Linked DNA regions of Homo sapiens: region 2 is linked to region 1. The links are contacts of gene promoters, found by promoter capture Hi-C in blood cells and fetal thymus (Javierre and others, 2016). All regions are on one chromosome and are shown on one strand. Each heading gives the region's core, a stretch centred on a gene start or on the middle of the fragment in contact. The rest is flanking DNA. Distances are from core to core; before and after follow the strand shown.

Region 1 (7,030 bases), core at 2,578-5,077:
AGCAAAGAAAACAAGGATGTTTATATTTACCCAGAAGTGTGCATGGCAATTGACCATCATGGTTCTCTCAATGAGCTCATCAGGACATTCCAGAAGGTGATGCCCAGAGACCACACCAGCATTATTGACCAGGACTGAGACTTCGCCAACCTCCTTGCGGACTCTTTCAGCCGTCAGGTAGACGTTCTCCCTCTTCCCCACGTCACAGGTGTAGGTAAAAACCTGCAAGTTACAGTGGGGCAGAATTTCTTCCTCACCATTCCCAGCTGTCCTCAGAAGTCCAGATGAGGAGAAAACATGCAAAAGAGAAGGAAGTGCAGAAAGTGAGTCACATGGCGATCAGTAGGACAAAGATCACACAAAACAAAAATACTACAGTGAGCTTCAAATTTCTAACGCTGCAAGGCTTGCCAACGACTGAGCTTTACAGCTGCCTTCCTCCCATGAAGTCTTTGGGAATTACAGCAATTTACTGGATAACTTTGCTTAGGGGAAAGTCATGTAATTGTGACAAGCCCAATACAAGTAGACCACATGGGATCAGCTTGCTGGAGCTAAAGACACCTGCAAAGAACTGATCTCAGCCCAGAGCTCAGAGAACAACACACACACACTACACACTCCTCTTTTTTTGGGGAAACAGTGGCCCAAGAGAAACAGCTCTTAGTCTTTAGTATGAGAACCCTCAAAATGGAAACTCACTTCAAGGCTCACAAATCAAAACTGCAATTAATAATCTGAACTCATCCAAAGCCAAGAAATGAATCCACAATTTTTAATGAAGAAATAGGGATCACTGGCTTGTTCTAACTGGGCTGACTCCTCTAAGAAGTACTCTCACAAATCAAGTTACAGGTAAATATGCAATTTTACCGCATAAGAACTTGACAATTTAAAAACCAAAATCGGTATCCTGGAAAATGAATACCCTTATCTTTTAGGTTTCGGCAGGGAGCACAAAAATCTGTATTTGCTACACCTCCATACCACCAATGAAAATGGTACATTTTCACCCTTAAATTAAAAACGCAGGTATCAATAAGTTTGATGATAAATTATCAATACAGGGGAGAAGTGCCCAAGTCAATTTTCTCCGTACAGGTAAATGTTTTCCCTAAAAATGAAAAATTTTGTTAAAAACCAACAGCCATTATCAAATTTCCTGAACCAATATTTATGGTTGGTTATGGACTTTGCTTTGGCTTAAAAAAAAAAACAACTCAGATTCAGGTTAGTTAATAAGTATTCAGAAATGCAGATTTTCTGGGGTGACCAAAAACATGGAAGAAATTTACAACGAAGCCTAAATCCTCCAAGAGCTTTCTCTTAGGAAGCAAGGCGTCTTTCAATCACGCTCAGGGAATGTAACTAAAGCACTTATCGCTGGCGAAACAATGTAATTATGTTCCTCAGGCTAAACTTATAATGAAACCGTCAATACTGCCCTCGTCTAAGGGGTTCAGACCACAGTAAGACAGACACTTCTTCAGTCTAGTCAGAACAACTTCCCAAAGACGCTTCAGTTTCCCATCGCGCCGCTTGTAAGTCGGAGCAAGACATTTCTTTGGGATCCAAACCTGTGGTAACAAGTTCCCTCCGCCTTCCCTACCCCGGAGGGCTTAGGAAACCCGCCCCCTCCCCCCGCCGTGGTCCCCAGAGACCGAACCTCCGCGAGGACAGGGCACCTTCTCCCTGGTAATACAGAAGTGATCGCGTTCCTTTATCAGGAAGCGAATTCCACTCGTCTCCCAAAAGACCGGTGGGGTGTTCCTTTCCTCCACAGCGGGGCTGACCAGGCAGCGGGGTTTGGGGCCTGCCGTGGTAGGGCGCGGGGTGGAAAGAGGCTTGACCCAACAATGCTCCCGCGCGGGTCCAGGTTACCTTGCAGCGCAGCGGCGTCGGCCGCCTCCAGGTCGCGGTAGATGTGGCGCACCATGCCAGCCGTCTCCTCGTTGCTTTGCGTGTTGATGTCCCACAGCACCAGCAGCGCCCGACGCCGGGCGAACTCCAGCGCGAAGAGGCGGCCCAGGCCGCTGCCGGCGCCGGTGATGAGGCACACCTGGCCCGCCACGCTCTTCTCCTTGGGCCGCACCAGCCAGCGCGCCGCGGCCAGCACGAACGCCCAGAGCACTTTGAAAGTGACCACGAAGAACTCCACCACGATGTTCATCGCGACGCCCGGGGCCCCGCACGAGCCCAGTGCCTGCGTCCGCGCCCACCCCGAGCCCGGCAATCGGGCTCCCGGCTCCGGGGCGCTTGTCACAGAGGCCGGGACGAGAAGGCTGCGCCCCGCGCCCGCCCCCGAGGTGCCCGCCGGGTTGGAGTGCGCGGCGCCGCTCCCTGCCTGCGCGGGGCCACTCCCGCCCGGGCTCGGCGCTGTGGCCCCGGACTGTGCCCGCCGCGGCAGTCACCCGGCTCGGCGCCTCCTGCCGGCAGCCGCCCGCCCGTCCCGCAGCGCCCGGCCGGCCGGCTCCGCTGCAGTGGCGGTGACAGCCGCGAGTTAGACTACTCGAACTGCCCTCATGGCCAAGCTGCTGCCGCCCGAGCGTCCCCGGAACCGGCGCGCCGGCTCCCTCTCACCCCGGGGGAGGGGTGCGCAGCGGAGGCGGCACGGGCCAGCGGGCTGCCGCGGGAGTTGTCAACTCGACCCAAGTTGCGAGAGGGTGGGAGAGTGGGGTGCGGGGCGGCGGAGCGCCGGGAAGGGGAGACTCGCTCGGCGCAGGCAAGCGCTGCCCAACGCCTTGCAGCTGCCCCCGAGGGCTCGCGTTCCCCGGCCCTGCACTCTCCGCGGGTGTCACTCGGGCACTGGGCTCCGCAGCGCAGCCCGCTTGCAAGTCAGAGCGCTCCGGGCCGGCTCTGAGCGGGCTCCACGCTCCGCGCTATATAACCCCGCGACCGGGAAGAGCCCGCGCCAGCCTCGGCATCGGCCCTCCCTCCGCCCGGCCTCCCCGCCCCCGGGCGCACCCCGCCCCCGGCCCAGCCCCCAGCCCGCCAGCCGTCCGCGGAGCCGAGCCGGGTAGCCCCTCTCACACGGCCGTGGCCGCAACCTCAGCCCTCCTCGCACCTCCCTTCGCAGCTCACGCCCCCTCCCGTGGGGTGTCCTGGCCTCCGCCTGCCGAGCTCGGCAGTCAGCAGAGCCCCGGCCATCCTCCTCCGGCCGTCCGGTCCCCACTGGTCCCTGGCTAGCCACTTTTCGTAAGCTAGAGCACTCCAGACCGCCCCGCCTGCGATCAGGCGCTGCGGAAGACAGCCCTGTGGGCTGGAGCGACGACAAGGACCTCGCGGAGCGGCGAAAGGGGTGTAGTCTGCGACTACCGCGGCAGGGAGCCGGGAGGGCGGCCAAAAGTGACTTCGAATTGCAGCTAGCCGTTTGGAACGTGGCCCAAGAGGCTCTCATTTTCCTGGCTGGAACCGTCGCCGCGGTGCTTGCCTGCGGTCCTGGTCAGCCGTTGCCCTCCCGCCGGGCGGGCGAAGACTGGTGCATGCTGGGATTTGTAGTTCGTCCCCATGAGGCTCGTCCTGGGAACATTATGGGGAGGAACGGAGCCTAATCCTGTCAGCGCAGCCTGGGGATTAGGACCCGGAGTTGCCAAGGTGTCAGCACTCTTTGCTCTTGAATTGATTAAAAAGTCTAATCAAATGCATATATTTTCTTCAAACAAGTTTTACCCGAAAGTTTGTTGAAAGAGGCTAAATCAGGGAGTTCTTTGCGTCTGCAAGGCGGCTTTTTAGTTCTGGATTCTTTTCCGGCTTATTCTAAGACACCTATGAGTCGTGGGGCTTCTCTCGCGAAGTCTTTAAGTGGACAGTACGCATGCGCCAACTTCCTCTTTTTCCGGCTGGAACCATGGAGGGTGTAGAGTGAGTTGCTTCTGGTCCTCTTGAGAATCCTTCTCCATCTCCAGAGCCAGATACTTTTTGTGTCACTTTTTCTCTCTCTGGCCGTAGCTTGCACCTTTGCCCACCTCCCTGCTTGATTGTGAACGCTGTGTGACACCAGTGGGGACCTGAGGCTAGGGTTGGGATGCGGGCGGTCTTAGGACGGAGGTTTTGGAGATCCCGGGAACGAGATGTCGGGTTGGAATGTGTGTGGAACCCGTCGGTTGGCTGACGGCCCAGTCCTCGGTAGAGGGTCTTTCGGGGGAGGCGCAGAACCTCTGAATTGTGTTCGTCCTTGGCTGGTGCTTGGTACAGGCCTCCCTGCCGCCAGGCCTTTGCTTTCAACATGTGGATCCTGATTGAACCAGAGTGGTGGTGGCTTGTTTTTTTTTTATTTTTATTTTTTAATTTTTGCGCTTAAAGTCTCGGGGTCAGTGCCTTGCAGTAGTCTTTCAGCTAGTACATTTTGTTATTCGGGTGTTGGTGTGTTTTTTTTGTTTTTTTTTTTAATTAGTCGTCGGAGGCCGGGCCTCTTGGTTGAAATAGGGAAAAACGTATTGCTATTGTCATATTTGTGATTGCGTTTTAGGCAACATGGTGTTAAAGGTTATTGACATGGAGCTAAAATATGCATCGTACACTGTAGCATGCCAGAGCAAGTAAAGTTACTAGTGACTAAAGTCAGTGACAGCATTTCTGGTAAACAACACTGCTCAGTACGGGAGTAATACAGCGCTGTGAGCTTTTTGAGCTATTGATAACATTTTTGTTTATTAACGTTAGAGAGAAGAAGAAGGAGGTTCCTGCTGTGCCAGAAACCCTTAAGAAAAAGCGAAGGAATTTCGCAGAGCTGAAGATCAAGCGCCTGAGAAAGAAGTTTGCCCAAAAGATGGTAAGTAAACTTTTTGAGGCACTAGCACATAAGGAGGCGCCTTATTGGGATTGAGGATGAGGTGAATGTTCTTGGCAAGATTTACTTCCTAACTGTACTGAGTAATTGCTTAGCTACCTAATGTTACAATCTGAAGGTAGTGGGGTTTTTTGGTGGGGGATGTAATTGCATACTGTGGCAAGAAAAGATTTAAAGGAAACATGTTGTAGTTTTCTTTTTAATGATTGGCATTGCTAATTGTGATTGAGCTAAAAATTATGAATAACTGATTATTGGTTTTCAGCTTCGAAAGGCAAGGAGGAAGCTTATCTATGAAAAAGCAAAGCACTATCACAAGGAATATAGGCAGATGTACAGAACTGAAATTCGAATGGCGAGGATGGCAAGAAAAGCTGGCAACTTCTATGTACCTGCAGAACCCAAATTGGCGTTTGTCATCAGAATCAGAGGGTAAGTTCAGTTTTACTGCATTCGGGTTTGAATGGGAAAAAAAAAAAAAACCTTCACATTACTTCTGGGAGCCCTGATTCTGAAACACCGGAGTAACAATATTTTAGGGGAAGCTAGAACAAGGAGGGTGCTGATCACTAATGGTTTAGTTGCAAGCCATGTTCCCCAAGCTCCTATCCCTTCTCTTAATAGAATACAGAAATTCAGTGTGTAACATGAGAGGATTCCTATCTGTTTAGGTAGGATTCGATATTCAAAACTATAATGGTTAGTATTAATAAAAATTTCGATGAAAGGCAAATGCATTTCTGGTCCGTTTTCACCACAGTATCAATGGAGTGAGCCCAAAGGTTCGAAAGGTGTTGCAGCTTCTTCGCCTTCGTCAAATCTTCAATGGAACCTTTGTGAAGCTCAACAAGGCTTCGATTAACATGCTGAGGATTGTAGAGCCATATATTGCATGGGGGTAAGTCTCTTTTCTCCTTTGATTTCTATTTGATAAATTGGTTATGTAGCAACATGAATTTTAGATGTTTTAACAGTGGTCACCTTATTTATGTTTGCTTTTTCACTTCAGGTACCCCAATCTGAAGTCAGTAAATGAACTAATCTACAAGCGTGGTTATGGCAAAATCAATAAGAAGCGAATTGCTTTGACAGATAACGCTTTGATTGCTCGATCTCTTGGTAGGTTCTATTTGGGGGAAAATTTGGTATTAGACCATGCGATAATTTCTTACCCTCTTGTGGCCGTACATTTCTCACTATTGTGAATCTTCATGTGTTCCCTATGATTCTTGATTTAGCTTAAAAGAAAACGTAAGACATGGTTTCATTAGCTTGAACCTTATCTTTGTAAAGCCATGCATTTACCTTGTTTATTCCTGGTTATGTTTTCATCTCACAGCCTATTCAAAAAGATTTTGAATAATTATTTCAAAACTTTTTGCAACTTTAATAATCTTAAATAACCTTAAAATATTTAGGTAAATACGGCATCATCTGCATGGAGGATTTGATTCATGAGATCTATACTGTTGGAAAACGCTTCAAAGAGGCAAATAACTTCCTGTGGCCCTTCAAATTGTCTTCTCCACGAGGTGGAATGAAGAAAAAGACCACCCATTTTGTAGAAGGTGGAGATGCTGGCAACAGGGAGGACCAGATCAACAGGCTTATTAGAAGAATGAACTAAGGTGAGAGACCTCATCCTGAGAAAGGTTGAGTTAATGTTAGAGTATAAGTGGTGGTAATCTTGAATACTTTTCCCATTAAATATTGATGGGGGTTTGAATTTTAATCAGTGCTTTTGTGGGGAGTGGGGGTCAACTATCTTAATGATTACAGTTGGTTTGTTTACTGCTTTTGAGGACCTTTCTGGAGGAAAGGAAAAGCCTGTTTTGGGGAGTCTTTAAAGATGGAAATTGGGTGGTCTTAAAAATGTAAACTCAATCATTACTTTATAACTGCCTAGTTTATGTTAATTGTTAGCTGCCTAAAGTGTTTTCTAATGGTTTTCTTTTTTCCTTTCAGGTGTCTACCATGATTATTTTTCTAAGCTGGTTGGTTAATAAACAGTACCTGCTCTCAAATTGAAATATATTGTTGTATTTGTGATTTGTTGTTGTTGTTGTTAGCCTGCCTCTGTCTTCCCTTAACTACTGTGGCAAGTGTGGTGTGTGATAAAATTAAGCCAAATCAACAGCCCATTTCGTGCAAAATCAGGGTCGAGTCTGTGTGAAAGACATCTCTTGGGTTTTTAAAAGGCTTTTCTATACAAAAGATTTTAATTTTTTGTTTTTTAACTGT
Region 2 (7,291 bases), core at 1,881-4,380, about 12 Mb after region 1:
AACCTCTATTTTGGCCTGATATTGCCCAAGATACACAGCAATGTACCTTGTCAGGGGTACCAGATTTAGTTTCTGGAAATGCAGGAGCAAAGCATCACTTAATGGCATTTTGGAGTTAGCTATAAAACAAATTTGATTTCCTTAAAAAGATAGGCTTTGATAAGCACTTACCACTGGGTTTCAGACCTATCTTTGAAGGTAGGACCAAGGAGGCTTCCTGGAGACATCCATTAACCGAAAAGGGAGCCAGGTGAGACTTTCTCCACTCAAAACTATGTCTTATCCAGGAGGAATAATTTGGAGTATAGACTCTGGAGCCAGTCCAACCAAGTTCACATCCCTCCTCTATCACTTACTAGCTTTGTGACTGTCCCAGCCACTCCAGCTGTGGCTGAAAGGCTCCAACGTACAGCTCAGACTGTGGCTTCAGAAGGTGGAAGCTCCAAGCCTTGGCAACTTCCACGTGGTGTTGAGCCTATAGGTGCACAGAAGTCAAGAATTGAGGTTTGGGAACCTCCGCCTAGATTTCAGAAGATGTATGGAAACGCCTGGATGCCCAGGCAAAAGTTTGCTGCAGGGACAGGGCCCTCATGGAGAACCTCTGCTAGGGCAGTGCAGAAGGGAAATGTGGGGTCAGAGCCCCCACACAGAGTCCATACTGGGTCACTGCCTAGTGGAGCTGTGAGAAGACTGCTACCATCCTCTAGACCCCAGAATGGTAGATCCACTGACAGCTTGCACTGTGCACCTGGAAAAGCCGCAGACACTCAATATCAGCCCGTGAAAGCAGCTGGGAGGGAGGCTGTACCCTGCAAAGCCACAGGGATGCAGCTGCCCAAAACCATGGGAACCCACCTCTTGCATCAGAGTGACCTGGATATGAGACCTGGAGTCAAAGGAGATAATTCTGGAGCTTTAAAATTTGACTGCCCCACTCGAATTCAGACTTGCATGGGCCCTGTAACCCCGCTGTTTTGGCCAATTTCTCCCATTTGAAATGGCTGTATTTACCCAATACCTGTACCCTCATTGTATCTAAGAAGTAACTAGCTTACTTTTGATTTTACAGGCTCTTAGGTAGAAGGGACTTGCCTTGTCTCAGATGAGACTTTGGACTGTGGACTTTTGGGTTAATGCTGAAATGAGTTAAGGCTTTGGGGGACTGTTGGGAAAACATGATTGGTTCTGAAATGTGAGGGCATGAAATTTGGAGGGACTGGGGCAGAATGATATAGTTTGGCTGTGATCCCATTCAAATCTCAACATCAAATTGTATCTCTCAGAATTCCCATGTGTTTTGGGAAGAACCCAGAGGGAGGTAATTGAATCATGGGGGCCGGTCTTTCCTGTGCTATTCTCGTGATAGTGAATTAATTCTCATGAAACCTAATGGGTTTATTGGGGGTTTCTGCTTTTACTTCTTCCTCATTTTCTCTTGCCACCTCCATGTAAGAAGTGCCTTTCACCTCCTGCCATGATTCTGAGGCCTCCCCAGCCATGTGGAACTGTAACTCCAATTAAACCCCTTTTTCTTTCCAGTCTGGGATATGTCTTTATCTGCAGTGTGAAAACGGACTAATACAGTGACCCTACTTTGTTTTATCTCTCTGAGCTTCCAGTATCTAATTTCTTTAAAAAATTGATATGACTACAGGGTTTTGTGAGAATTTAAGGGTAAAAATATCTTTGGTGTGGGGGGTGGGGGGTGGCTAGAGCATTGTGTTTTGAAATTTAGCTCTCATTTTTATTTTATATGAAGCACCATCACTCAGATTTATTTCTTAATCCAGTTCTCCACCTCCTTCATTGAGATAATATAATAGAGGGTTGTAAGGGGGCCCTGAATGGGAGAAAGGATATATGGATGCAGAAGGAGATGCCACAAGATAAAAGCTGAGAGAGCTACTTCAATAAAAACTCTGTGAACTCTCCCCTCCCACCGTCTCTTGATAATAGCCTAACACTATTTGACAAAAGGTAAAGAAAGGCATTCTCTTTATTCTGCAACATGACCTTTGGGGGGTTTCTGTGCATCATCAGGGCAGGGTCAAGCAGCATCCAACCATCCACAGGTGAAAAGGCATGGGGCCGGGGGGAGGCGGGAGTGCTTCTGAAGGCGCGGGTGGGTGGGTTTGTGGGGCTGGAAAAGAGGAATGAAACCAGATGCCACAATGCAACTGCTCTCTCTGGTCCCTGAGCCCTCCTGAGACACTCCCAGGGGTTGCTACGAAACATGATCAAGAGCTGTGGGTTCAGCAATTGACAGAAATGTATCAAATCACTAAGCATTTCTTGCTTGCCTGTTACACATTGGGCATGGTGTTAGCAATGGTGACACAAAGATGATAAAGACGTCGCTGATCTCAAGTCCTTGTCTGGTTCAACCACGTGCCAAGACATTTTAATACTCTGTTGGGAATTCTCAGGCAGCACAGGCCCAGGCGTTAGCAAAGCAGCCAGGGATTTCAGACAGAGGGTGCCATCCAGGGTAAGAAAATGAACTTTTTGTGTCACATTTGCATTTTCATTCCTTAACTAAGAGTATCTGAAAATACTGATGGCACAAACGAACTAAATTCCTGCTTCAGCACCAAATGGATGAACTACTACGGTTTAAGCATTGAACTAGTCCTAATATCACCATTCCAGAAATGTCTTAGTATTAATCAGGACAAGAAATAGGGATCTCTTTCGCAAGAAGCGAGACTGCACTCCTTCCTTTCCTTGTATACGGAAAGGGGACAAAATCCACAGTGAAAGGCCTAGAAGCGGCGCACTCCGCCCACGGGCGGCCCACGTGTCCACCTATTCCGCACCGCGCCCTGTCCCATCCCTATGGAGCGGGGTCTGCCAACGCTCGCGAGAGCCCTCTCGGCTTCCACGTTTGCCACGTTCCAAAGGACCGAGACAAACTGGAAAGCCGAAAGAGGCTCGCGCTCACAGGCAGCTGCGTAGCGCCCGAACAGCCCTAAGTGAGCAGGGGCGGGGAGCGCGGCAGGGTACCGCCGCCTCGTAAGGGCCCTTGCGATTGGGTCCCAGGCGCCGTCACTCAGCCTTCCGGGGGCGGGGCGAGGCCGGGAAGGGGCGTGGCCGTCGGGCGGCGAGCCGCGCGCTCTCGCCCCGGGAGGGAGTCACAGGTTCGTACACGCGAGGCCGGGCGCGCGCAGCCGGCAGGCGGGTGAAGTCTTCCCAGGTGCTGCAGGCGGTGCTGAGGCACAGGGTCTGCTGCAGGAGCAGCGGCCCGAACCCGCTCCAGCGGCCCGCCGCCGCCAGCGGTTCCCGCGTCGCGTGTGTACCCCCGCGCACTGAAGGAGGTCCGCCAGCCCTCACCAGCCCCCGCGGACCGTGCAATGGCCCAGCGTAAGAATGCCAAGAGCAGCGGCAACAGCAGCAGCAGCGGCTCCGGCAGCGGTAGCACGAGTGCGGGCAGCAGCAGCCCCGGGGCCCGGAGAGGTCAGAGGCCCTGCGGGGCGGGGATCTGGGGCCTCGCCTCGGGGTAGGGAGCCGGCTGGCGCGGCGGACGCTGCGGGTGCATCTCCCCAGGTCCCACCGCGCGCCGCCTCCATCCCCCGCGACGCTCCTCCTTTAGGCGCGCGGGGCGGAGGCCGCATTCGGCGGGCCTGGCGGGCGGGCGAGGGGCCAGGCGGACCGGGGTCCGAGCCCTCGGGATGCTAGTCTCGGGGAGCCCCTTCCCAGCGGTTCCTTCACCTGCAGGGCGCAGCCGAGACAGAGGTTGCTGAACGACTGTTTCTTGGCTTTCCGTGGAATTGAACATGGGAGTAAGAGAACAATTTATCGTTTGCCTTGCGTGTTTTGGGGAGTTGAAAATGAGCCAAAGTCAGGGAAAGTGAGTTCCTGCCTAACCAGCAGCGTTTCAGAGCAACTCAAAGGAGGTGAAAATGGGGGCGCCGGGGGGCAGGGGGAGGGAAGAAGTTGGGAGTGATTTGAATGCTCTCAGAAATTATTTTAAATATTTTTGCTTGTATGTAGCTTTCTTAATATGCGTTGCAGTTGCCTTTAAAATAGAATGTCATGAAATACTGAACGAGCGTCTGTATTTTTACCACTTTTACTTAAAATAAAAATCGATTGGATATTCACCTTTCTCCTCGTCCGTGTGCATATCCAGCAGAGAGAACAGATTTTTAAATCTGTTTCGTCTCATATTTCAGTGATTCTTGGTTTCTTTTATACTTCCTTTGACTCATATTTGGGATATTGAAACTGCAATACACATGTGTATGGAATGTGAGCTGTAAACTTCACTTGAAGTGATTTAGACTCTTTGTTTTCTGAGATCTTCAGATCATGCATTCATAATATACCAAGAAAATGAATCAGCTATAGTCAAAGAAGTATTTTCTTTATAGCACTTGTCACTATCTGAACTTGTCTTATTACTTTCATGTGTGTTGTCTTTGGCTCATTCTCTCTGTATCCCCAGCTCCTAGAATGTTCCTTTCCCATAATAGGTGCTCAATAAATATTTGAGTAGTGAATGAATGAATGGATTTAAATGGGGAAAGTAGTGCATTAAATCCATTGCACAAATTTACATTCTAAGGACTAATATTTGTATTCTAAAAGTAAAGATGTAGACACAGTTTGAAGTTCAATGCAAGCATATTAATTCACCTTTGACATAAGTGAAAGTTTGTGTTCCTTTTTCACTTGTTCTTAAATGTCACTTACTTAAACCTGCAGAGGGATAGATTAATTGCCTCAGCCGACTGAGGCTACTCTTTTTTAACATCCCTAAATGAGAATGGGTTCTTCTCATTGTGCCTCTAAGGGCACTAAGCAGAGAAAGCTGATGAACAACTTTAATGTTAGTTGTTTTCAAAAGGTTTCTGTAGCTATTTGCCAGAGAAGCATGTCTTCGTTCCATTTCATTTTTGTGTTTATGAGGAGAGGGCTGATTGCATCTGAGGGAAGTCACTTTATATGGCCTCTTATTGGTGAGAACTAATACTGGGAAATGTGTCTCACGTTTCTAGACCTACCCCATAACTATTTGAAGCATTTTAACAGGCAAGAGATAGGTTTAGAAAATGCAGTAACTTAAATTAACTTCTCCTGACTTTCATAGTCAGGCATTTTAGAACAAACTCTGCCCATATTTGAGGATCTACAGCCTTTTAAGCATTTTACACGTTGATTCTCTAATAGTCATGAAACAGACATAGTATGTAAAAGAATATGTAAAAGGGAGGAATGCCCGTGATACGAAAACAAAAGTTGATATTGGAACCCTGCATGTGACGTAATGAGTATTCTTTATCCGCATATCCGCAACCTTTTCTTTTTTTTCTCCAGTAGATACTGAGTTCTTACTGTGTGCCAGATAGAAGGCACTGGGTATGGAAACCATTTCCTTCCATCACCCTAAACAGTTAAAGTACAGTGTCGTGTATAGTAGGCTGTACTCGAAAGATAAAGCCGGCTTTTCTTTTAATGCTGTTTACCTGGTCATTAAAGTACGGACGTTGTGCGAACCATTTCCTTCTACTGGGAAAATCAAAGACTTTTTAGCAGTGTCATACTGTGAGACCCATTTAGTTTCCTGCTCAAATCATACAGATGAGGAAATTAATGCCCAGAGAAGTTGCCGAGTTCATTGAAGGTTGTTTAGTTCATGGAAACTCAACTAATTACTGGAAGAACCGAGACTAAGAACCCAGGTTTTGTTATTCATTTTGCCATGCTTGAATTTTAGGTTCTCTAGTATGTAATTGGAGTTGAACTAGATTATCAAGTTTTCTTCTGGCTGTCTCCATGAGTACTACATTTAATTATTGGAGAAAACTATGCTTTTGTCCTATCACCAATTACATTTCCCTTGACAAAAATTCTATTTGAAACACTATTTGAAATTTTAGTTTGAGAAGAAGTATATGTGTTCAAATAGTACGTTTTTTGATATGTCTTACATTGAGAGTCAGAAAATGACGGCATTGGTCACATTAAACATTATTATTTCTTAAGTTGTTGTGTAAACGTATGGGGAAAAAAGAACCCAGTCATTTGAAACATGCATTTTAGGGAAAAGGTGATTTCTTTTTTTTTTCCTGGCCAAACTTTATCTTGGTGGTTTTTTTGCTGAAAAGTGATGTTTGGAAGCTGGAATTTGGGGAATTTATATCACAGATTTTTAAAGCAAGTGTCTGCTTTTTATTTTCTTCAGCTTAAGCTGAAAAATGATAAAATGGTTTTCTACAGAGTTCAATTTTACTTTTTTTTCAGTTTTACTCTTTATAATATAAAAGAAACATGAATAAATTAGACTTCCTACCTTTATTTTGCATATAGAACTGGACTTGCATGGCCAGTTGGGCCCAGGGGAAGCCTTTTTCAAATTTATTGATTTGAAAATAGTTTGACAAAGAAGGATCATGATGTCCTTTTGGGCTTATTTTGTAGACACTCGTATGTGTAATGTTTTCTGTTTGTTTGTTTAGTTTTTCCCTTTTGAGTATCACCCCTTAACTCCCTGTATCTCCTAGCAGCTTTCCATCTCCCTGTTTATTTTGTCTGGGTGTCCTGCTACTACATTAACTTTTGCCACTAGGTGTCACTGTAGAATATATCCCCCTTTTAGTTTGAAGCTTGGGGTTATGTAACAGCAGGTTTTAATTATTATTTAATCCGTCTGTATATACTCAAAACTATTGATAGATAAGCACTTAAAAACTCTTAGCTACTTTTTAACTCTCTCAAGGTGTCTCAGTAGATTGAGCAGCCTTTTTGTTTAGGCTTAATTAGAATGAAATATATTCCTGTACTGCCTGTAAAACATTAACAGCTTCATTTGATGAGTATTTGTCATTTAGAAACACACTTCTGAGTTTAGTTTAGCTTCCTTTTTCTTTCTACTTTGAGTGTCTCTTAGATTACTAAGTAACTGAGGGATTCAATACACTGCTGATTGCATTGTGGAGCCCTTGAATGAAGAGGCCCTAGCAAAATTTTCTTTCTTTAGCCAAAGACCATCAGAGCCAATTGCTTAATCCTCCATTACTCATTCTAAGATGAAAACATAGGAGGACCATAATTCTTCCACTGCAAGAACCGTCAGCTATTTTGTGTTCAGTTCAACAGCATTTTGTCCATCCTGACCAAATCATATGAAACCAAGCACTAAATAATGTTCTGAGGGAGTTTATGAACACATTTTCCAGAGACCAGTTAACCTCTGGTGGTCTGTGGAAGTGAAAGTTCTATATTTTGGACTATATTTTAGTCTTGCTTTAAAATAATCTGTCTCATAGAGATTATTAGAAAATGAATGTAT

Evidence for each region. Contacts are between HindIII fragments. The CHiCAGO score rates a contact against its expected background, and 5 or more counts as called.
Region 2: a contact is called between the fragment with the promoter of ASPH here and the fragment with the promoter of RPL7 in region 1, in 1 of 17 cell types (naive CD8 T cells). The highest score is 5.9, in naive CD8 T cells.

Annotation. Positions count from the first base shown.
Region 1 is chr8:73,290,430-73,297,459 of GRCh38, reverse strand. RPL7 (ribosomal protein L7) reads left to right here and starts at 3,827. Exons shown (of 7, transcript NM_000971.4): 1 at 3,827-3,861; 2 at 4,663-4,771; 3 at 5,055-5,221; 4 at 5,550-5,687; 5 at 5,799-5,908; 6 at 6,208-6,417; 7 at 6,755-7,030. The coding sequence starts at 3,848. The coding sequence ends at 6,416. It overlaps RDH10 (retinol dehydrogenase 10), which reads right to left and starts at 2,858. Exons shown (of 6, transcript NM_172037.5): 1 at 1,882-2,858; 2 at 31-266. The coding sequence starts at 2,170. RefSeq lists a silencer at 2,166-3,125 and enhancers at 3,216-3,705, 3,159-3,866, 3,826-4,185, 4,196-4,245, 3,867-4,575. The HindIII fragment of the contact is 6,100 bases long and covers 1-5,077 here.
Region 2 is chr8:61,710,431-61,717,721 of GRCh38, reverse strand. It overlaps ASPH (aspartate beta-hydroxylase), which reads left to right and starts at 3,130. Exons shown (of 25, transcript NM_004318.4): 1 at 3,130-3,453. The coding sequence starts at 3,351. It overlaps MIR4470 (microRNA 4470), which reads right to left and starts at 2,934; the gene lies at 2,863-2,934. RefSeq lists silencers at 2,921-3,290, 3,331-3,760. The HindIII fragment of the contact is 6,840 bases long and covers 1-6,607 here.